3 separate regions of the Homo sapiens genome follow, and all the other regions are linked to region 2. The links are contacts of gene promoters, found by promoter capture Hi-C in human tissues and cell types (Jung and others, 2019). All regions are on one chromosome and are shown on one strand. The core of a region is centred on a gene start or on the middle of the fragment in contact, and the rest is flanking DNA. Distances in the headings are between cores, read along the strand shown. Region 1 has its middle 5.8 kb from the start of LINC03024. Region 2 holds the start of ZFAT (zinc finger and AT-hook domain containing). Region 3 has its middle 24 kb from the start of ST3GAL1.

Region 1 (2,700 bases), core at 154-2,653, 1.0 Mb after region 2:
TAAAAGGAGAAAGAATATATTGGAAAGTACAATGAGCTTTTTTTTTTTTCTGAGACAGAGTTTCACTCCGTCGCCCAGGCTGGAGTGCAGTGGCGCAAGCTTGGCTCACTGAAACCTCCGCCTCCCAGGCTCAAGCGATTCTTGTGCCTCAGCCACCCAAGTAGCTAGGATTACAGGCATGTGCCACCATGCTTGGCTAATTTTTATATTTTTAGTAGAGACAGGGTTTTGCCATGTTGGCCAGGCTGGTCTCGAACTCCTGGTCTCAAGCCATCCTCCTGCTTCAGCCTCCCAAAGTGCTGGGATTGTAGATGAGCCACCTGCCCAGGCTACAATGGACTTTTGTTGATTTTTTTGGCTACCTGTTGTCATTCTCTCACACTAATGATTCCAGCACCCCTCAACTCTCACTTGTGGATCCATCCACCCACTATTCTCCATCCACATGATTCTGGTGGTGCTGACTTTACCCCCATGCCTGGGCTGGAACATAAGCCCTCTGTCTAAAAATATTGGTACATTCCTTCTTCCTGGTTTCAGTGATGGGTTCAGGGAAGAGTGGCTGACTCAAGACAGAGGGCAGGCAATTTAACCTCAGTCCAGCAAACCCTGCATTTGCCCTTTTCCACCAGGTCTGACCCTGGAGGGATGCACGAAGGAGCTACTGCAACCATTTTGCCACCATGAACACAATACCTGTGTAGATAATGGAGCCAATGTCACAGGCGGTGGAGCAAGTGTCACAGGAGGCCCAGCCAAGAGATGATGGAAGGAAAAAACCAAACCCCAAGTCAACATCTATGTCTGGACTTTTTAGTTATTTGAGCCAATACATTTATGTTTCAAGCCAGATAAGAGCTGCATTTTCTGTTCACTGCAGTGCTTTAAGAGCTCTCAGGTAGCAGAGGATTGCTTCTAAGATGCATGCAACCAGCTGTGGTTGATTGTCTTCTTCTCGTTCTTTCTGATTTTGTCTTATTTTGTCAAGATGCAAAGCCGCAGGAGATTCCCTACAATGTCTAATTTCAAGTCTGAGCCTGCCCTTTACATGTGGAGGATAAGCACCTTCACTCATTATCCCCCAATGCGAAACCATTTTCCAAAAAGAAATTAAGTTTGCTGTTGATTCCATAAAAGGTGGCAGCTGAAAATACAATTTTTAAAATAGTTAGAAGAAACATTGCTACAACTCCTGCCCCTTCCAAATTGCCCTCTCTTGGAGATAGTTTGGCCAATCTTTGCCTCCCATCCCAACTAGGATACTGGAGAGCCTTGTCCACATATCTCTGTGTGTAGGGTCTGTTTTATATCTGGGCTCCCTGTCAACTCCCTCGACCTCATCCTGCCAGGCCAAGCACATTCTTTCTTCCCAGAAATGTGCCTCTTATCGCTACCCCTGTCCATCACTCGAGGCTGCCAGGAGCCGCTGTATGCAATCGCCAGAGTCTTGCACAATCCAGAAGAAAAGATTGATGGAGAGGAGTTATGGGCCTTGAGTCCATTTGTTCCTGTGCTCAGGGCTCTTTGTCCCTGTAAATCCAGGGTTTCTATGACAAATGTTTATGGCTCACACAGCCCGGCCTGCAAAAGGGAATTCCAACCCCCTACTGCCTAACAATTGTCCACCCCCCACTTTACAAATCTGAGGCCTTGGTCTGGGCGAGGAAACACTAGGTAGAATATGCAAAGCTGTTAATTCAAGTGGTGACTCAGGCCAAGAGTGACCTGCATGTCACTTTCCTCCACGTTCATGATGCCTCTAAGACTCTGCAGACAGAGATCTGGTCCTGCCCTCAATGCACCATGGACCCTCTGGACAGTTCCTTCCTCTCTCTGGGCTTCACTTTACCTGCTCAGCTACCTCCTATCCAGGGCAGGAGTCTCCTTTACAATTTCCTTGATAAGCATGCATCCTTGCATACCTCCAGTGCCAGGGACTCACTTGCTCACAGACAGCCTGTTCCAACGTCAGAGACCTCTCAAGCTTTGCATGCATAGGTAGGGACTGGACCGAGGTCAGCCCAATGCCACTTCTAGTCTCTTGGTGGCCACCCACTCACCAACTGCTCTTAGTGTGGCTTTGAGGATCTGGGTCACACCATCATGTGGTCAAATAAAGCCTCAGTTACTGGACACATGATCTGTCTCTAAGCCACTTCTCTTCCATCTATTTTAAAGCCAATGGGTTTTGCAAGACTGAATCTGGGGTTTTACACTGATGCCTGTGAAATCCCAGAAACATTTTTGCTCACAGAGTTTGTTTCTTTGATTGTTTGTTTTCCAGAGTGAAATCTCTGGAGTCAGGTAGACCTGGTTTGCATTTTGATTCCAGCTTACTTGCTGTGTGACTTAGAGAAGGTTTCAGAAACTATCTGACCCTCCTCTTCCTCAGCTAAGGGATAGGGATGATCAAATCCACTTGTTTTGTGAATGCTGGAAGGAAGATTCAGCACATGAAAACAGAATATAAAAGACTTTCTCATTACCTGGCGCAGGGTGAGTGTCCAGTGAAAGGCTGTTATTATCCCATGCGTACCTGCCCAGGGAGGATTCCAGGTGTATGAATGTACTTTGTGAGCTCTGGGGGCACCTCCTAAGAAGCCCTGCACATCTGGGTGCCATTTCTCTGGTTACCATCCTGCCATGGCCCCCCTCTGAGGAAGCTGAGCAGGAAGAAGGAGAGAAGCGTGAACCTTAGAC
Region 2 (2,700 bases), core at 53-2,552:
GGGGATGGAGCTAGGCCAGTGAGACCAGAGCTGTGGGAACATGAAGTGTGAACTTCAGGGCTGTCCGAGAATTTCATGTTGAGCAGCAACCAAAGAGGGTTATTCCAGGAAAAGAAGAACAGGCAAAGACTAGCATTTCAGGGGAACCATGAACACAAATCAGTTTCCCAAACTTCAGTCTCCTGAAGTCTGCTTTTACACTTTTTTTTTTTGGGGGGGGGGGGGCATGTCTTTGCAGCATGTACACCATTTTAAGTTGACTGATTTTTGAAAATGTAAACGAACAATTTAAAAACTTTATATGACTACTGTAAGTGAAAAACGTTATTTGTCATGAACAGAAAATGACCTTAGAACATGGACCACATCAACTCATTACTCATGAAATAAATAACTGTCAGGCTCAGTTTGTTTCTGAGGCTAACGGGGTGACCATTGACAGAGGTAAGGGAGGGAGATAATGACAGATAGGAATGGATGCTACGTAGAAAATATGAAGTGTCTTGGAGGGTTACTTTAGATGGGTTTCGGGGGGTGAGGGTTAGGGGCTGGAAGATATCATTTGAGCCGAGGACTACAGTGTTGGAGCTAAACACCTTAACATCAAAACCAAAAACAAAGTCATTAAATTTCCACCAGACTCAGCTGCCTGCCGAAGGCTGTGCCACAAGCAGAGAAATGAATGAGCGGGTGTTGGAGGCGCGCACATCCAGTGCAGACTTGTTGTGGGACAAAAAGAGACGAGAGAGGAGGAAGTCGCCTTGTCACGTGTGATCGTAGGCCGCTCAGTGCTCTGTAGCCCCTAAAACCCAGCCGGGTGGCCCAAAGGAAAGCACCCCACGCTTCGGGAAACGCCGCAGCTTTGAGCGGGATGCAGGTTGGGAGCACCCCGATGGACACATCAGTAAACTGAGAGCAAGAAAAGTTAATTCGCTGCCCCAAGTTAGGTAGTGAGAGGTAGAGCTGGGACACGAAGCGCACCCAGAACTCTCCTTGCACGCCCAGCTCGGCGGCCCCACATGCCGCGGGTCTAGGGTCGCGCTAGCAGAGGCCTGGCACAACCGCCAGACTCCTGACCCCGAGATCCGCGCTCCGGACCTCCCGAGGGCCCCTCCCTGGGCGTGGCTCAAAACGCGGCGCAGCGGAATCCGTGAAGTGGGATAAAAAGCACGGCCTCCGACTGCGAGCATGCGCGTTAGCTCGGCCCTGCCGGGCCGCGCTCGGCGCCGGGGGAGGGTCACCCGAAGCGGACGTCCGCTACGCAGGCGTCTGCGCCCCGTGGGGAGGAGGGCGAAGACTCCATCCGCCATGTTGGATGCCGCAGATTCGCCATAACCTCGCCGGCTCTTTTCTTAAAAAAATAAAAATAAAAAGCGAAGCGTCAGCAGGGCGCCCCGCCCCCTCGGTCGGCACGGGAGGGGGCCCGGAAGAGCCCGAGGCTTTTTTTTCCTCCGCGGTGGGGCGTTGCCATGGAGACGCGGGCGGCAGGTGAGCCGGGCTGGGGGTTGGGGTGAGACGGGGTGGGGGTGGGGCGCGGCGCGGCGCGCGGAAAGCCGTTTCGAGCGTCGAGTCGGGAAGCAGTGCGCCGGCCGCCGGCCGCCGGCCGCCGGCCGCGGAGGGATCCGGGTCTGGGGAGGAGAGCGAACGTAGTTGCGTTCTGCGGCTCACGTTCAGTCGCTGGGGTATCCCGCCGCAAAAAAAAAAAAAAAGCAAGGCGGGAGCGAGTGGGAGAGCATGCGCCCGGCCGTTTCCACGGCAATGGGTGGCGTTGGGGCGCGGGCCAGCGACGGAACGCAGTGGGCGCGAGGTTCGAATCCCGGCGATGCCAGCTCTTTGACTGGACCTTGGCGGGGCTTCCTTCTTGCCTGGCCTCGGATTCCTCCTTGGCGAAATGAGTACCTCCTGCAGGCTTCCCGGCCGCCGGCTGGACCTAATAGAGTGACAGATCTTCCACTTGACACCCGGTGCAAGTCATTTAACCTTGAGCTTGGGGTCCTTCACCTGTAATTACCACAAGCTTCCACATTTGGGCACTGACTTAACACGTTTTGCTGCTCAGCTCTCTTGAGAACTCTAATTTGTAGGTCATTTATTATGAGGAACAGAAGTTCAGAGAGGTCAACTTTACACAGTTTAAAAACGACAGAGCTGGGGCTTTAAAAATTAACTTCCTCCAACTTGGGCTAAAATCCAAACTCCTGCGTGCTCGCCTGACTTGTACCTCCATCTTCTTAGAATAGGGCTTGGCTCATGTAAGTGTTCACTATATACTTAGTGAATGAAAGAACGAACGCGCTAACTGATCACGCCTGCCCATCAGTCTGGCTTTTTTTGCTGGAGTCCAAGTGACCTTTTGGAGATGCCCCGCACAGCTGCCTCTCACCAGCTTTATCTTCCGAGCCTACCAGTTCATCTACTGAAACATCTGTAGTGTGTGTCCCCATGCTGAAGGAAGTAGCGTGTCCTACCTCTAACCCCCAGGGACACCTTTCCTGACTTTAGTTCAAATAACAGCTTTGCAAGGATCCCCTCTGCACGCCAGGCAGGGGTAAAGAGCAGTCCCAGTCGTAGTCCTGCCTCCACCTGCTGCGGTGCTAGATGTGGGAGAATGTGTCCTGGAGTGACAGAGTGGGCCCAGAGCCGAATATTGGGTCAGGAGACCCGAACTATATCAGGCGTGCTTTTTTTTAATTTAATTTT
Region 3 (2,700 bases), core at 12-2,511, 1.1 Mb after region 2:
GGACACACGACCTGATAAATATAAGAGTGTGCTGACTCTCCTGGCATGTGCAAAGTGCAGAGAAGCATTTTGGCTGGGGGCATTTGGAAGGCAGATACGTTACAACAAAGTAATCTCACTGCAAGTTCAGAAGTTCAGAAGAGGAAAGGGAAGAAAACAGGTATTGGCTAAACGCCTCTGTGTTCCTGGAACTGAGTTAGGGGTTATCCACACAATGCCTGTCGCTCTTCGAAAGACCCTCTTAAAGAAAGGGATTTTCCTCCTTCTGCAGATAAGGAGACGGAGCCTCAGAGAGGTGAAAATGACTGTTCAGGGTCATGGACTTAGAATGTAGCAGGTTCAGGAGTTGGATTGTACTTTTCCTGACACAGGCAGGGGGAGCAGAGGGTAAACGGGGTGGTGGGGTTGGGGAGGCTGGCTGGGTAGTATATTCTACAAAGAGTTTGCACTTTGTCCTTCAGGCAAGATTGCAACTTGGCAGCACAGGGGCCAAATTTGGATCCTCATGAGCCTTAAAAAGCAATGAGGAGAAGTATAGAAGGTAAATTCTAGAATAAATGCCTGGTCTGTAATCACAGTTCCACCTCCCACCAGTCGTGTGATGTGGGGCAAGTTACTGAACTTCTCTGTCCTCATTTACCTCCTCTGTAAAATAGAGATATTCACGACCAAATCTGTCTCCCAGGACTGTCTGGAAGGTTGCATGGGTCATACATGTCGCCCCACATTGAGAAATGCTTGGAATATAAGAATTGCATAAAAATTGCTAACCATTCTGATGGATATACAGCACGGTCTCTGGGAACTAAGAAGCACTTAAAAAACGACTATTATTCTTATAATACATTTTATCAAAAATTACCAAATATATTGAATAATTAGTTAACCTCTTTCACAGTAAGGCAAAGCAGGGGTGTGTTTATTATCCACTGATCCCATCTTCAAGCAGGGACATTGGGTTATAAATTGAGTGCATGGCCAGGTGAGGTGGCTTATGCTTATAATCCCAGCATGTAGGGAGACCAAGGCAGGAGGATAGCTTGAGACCAGGAGCTTAAGATCAGCCTGGACAACACAGGGAGACCCCATCTCTATAAAAAAATATCAGCGTGGTGGTGCACACCTGTGGTCCCAGTTATTGAAGAAGCTAAAGTGGGAGGATTGTTTCAGGGAGGTTGAGGCTGCAGTGAGCTGTGATTGTGTCACTGCACACCAGCCTGGGCAACAGAGTGAGACTGTGTCCAAATAAATAAATAAATAAATAAATAAATGTATAAAACCTTTTTTGACAGCTCAGATGTTAGAGAACAAAGAAAAGTCATTTTCTTGACTCACTGTGAGCTTGTACTTCCAGATGTGCAGGAGGGATGTGAGGGAGTGAATGTCTGTTTGCAAATGGGCTCATGTGGTTTGTCCTGTGGGCTCCTTCAGCTGTGGGCTTGGAGACAGTCAAAAGTTTCTTACTCTGAAATGCTGCTTGAAAACTATCTCAGGTCCCTGGAACAGCTAGATTTTTCTTTTGGCTCTACCACCAGTTGTGTAATCTTGGACATGTCCCTTTCCAATTCATGTTCTTACTGGATCTTTTTACTGTTTCATGTAATAAATGGAAAAGTGATAGAAATTAAGAGATGCATCTCAAATTACAGACAATTAGCCTAAGGATATGACTGGAATGAGGAGAATACACTGGACTGAAAACTCCTGGCCAGATCTGAATGTCGAGAGGATTCTGCACTCTACAGGGCAGGTGGAACAGACCCCCTCTTCCCCCAGGAGTCCCCTCAGCTCCTCACAGCTTCTCCTGTCTCGCTACCCTGGCCACCCCAGCTGTTGCTGTTCCACCCCAACTCTGCATGGGCTCAGGCCCCCGCCCCCACCACTACCATGACAGTCTTCTCAAGGGGTCCATCTCTCTGTGGTTGCTGAAGTGGGAGACACCCATCCCCCAGCCATGGCTGTGCACCAGTACCCTGGACAGGGCAGGAAAGGTAATGTCCATGGGGAGAACCGTGGGCTGATGGGAAGTAGGGCTGATGGGAAATAGTACAGACATTCTGCTCCCTCCCTCCTCCCACCTTCACAGTCTGTTCCGAGGTGCTGTAGTCCCTAAGCATCCTGGAAGACAGTCCAGGAGATAGAACACTCAGTGCACTTGGCACCAAATGTGGCCAGCTTGGTAACACGACCTCTCATTTGTCCCCTTCCTTCCCTGCCTACCTCCTTCTCTCTCTCTCTCCAGCTTCTCTGGGATCATTCTCTCTGGTAAAGTAGCAGCATGTCAGGTTTTCATTAGCCTCAGCTTTCTGGGAAAGCCAGGCTGAGACAGATTCTAAAACAAAGTAATTTCTACTCTCATTAATTGGGATGGCTAAAGAGAGAGAGGAAGGGAAGAAAGGTGAAGGAGAGAGAAAAAGAGAGCCTTTGGCTGTCGATGGATATTGAAGAGGTATGGTGAGTATTACAGGAGTGGAAACCAGTTCAACGCACGGAATTTGGAACCAACTGCCTGGGTTTGCATCCCTCTTAATAATTACAAACCTGTAATTGAGCAAGTTACTTAACCTTCAGTTTCCTCATCAGCAAGGTGTCAATAATAACCCTAAATGTCATAGGGGTTTTGTGCATTTAAAAAGTGCTAATATCTGTAAAGCACCTAGAACACTGTCTGATACACTGTAAGTATTATCTACGTCTTCA

Evidence for each region. Contacts are between HindIII fragments. The study calls those that stand out against the background at their distance.
Region 1: a fragment that was not itself captured here is called in contact with the fragment with the promoter of ZFAT in region 2 in 1 of the 25 tissues and cell types used here (lymphoblastoid cells).
Region 3: a fragment that was not itself captured here is called in contact with the fragment with the promoter of ZFAT in region 2 in 1 of the 25 tissues and cell types used here (spleen).

What each region holds. Positions count from the first base shown.
Region 1 is chr8:133,688,557-133,691,256 of GRCh38, reverse strand. No RefSeq gene overlaps it. Among named protein-coding and RNA genes, the nearest start is that of LINC03024, 5.8 kb to the right of the region's middle. The HindIII fragment of the contact is 4,956 bases long and covers 1-2,700 here.
Region 2 is chr8:134,711,633-134,714,332 of GRCh38, reverse strand. It overlaps ZFAT (zinc finger and AT-hook domain containing), which reads left to right and starts at 1,302. Exons shown (of 16, transcript NM_020863.4): 1 at 1,302-1,488. The coding sequence starts at 1,470. RefSeq lists an enhancer at 1,291-1,470. The HindIII fragment of the contact is 14,984 bases long and covers 1-2,700 here.
Region 3 is chr8:133,594,672-133,597,371 of GRCh38, reverse strand. No RefSeq gene overlaps it. Among named protein-coding and RNA genes, the nearest start is that of ST3GAL1, 24 kb to the right of the region's middle. The HindIII fragment of the contact is 9,177 bases long and covers 1-2,700 here.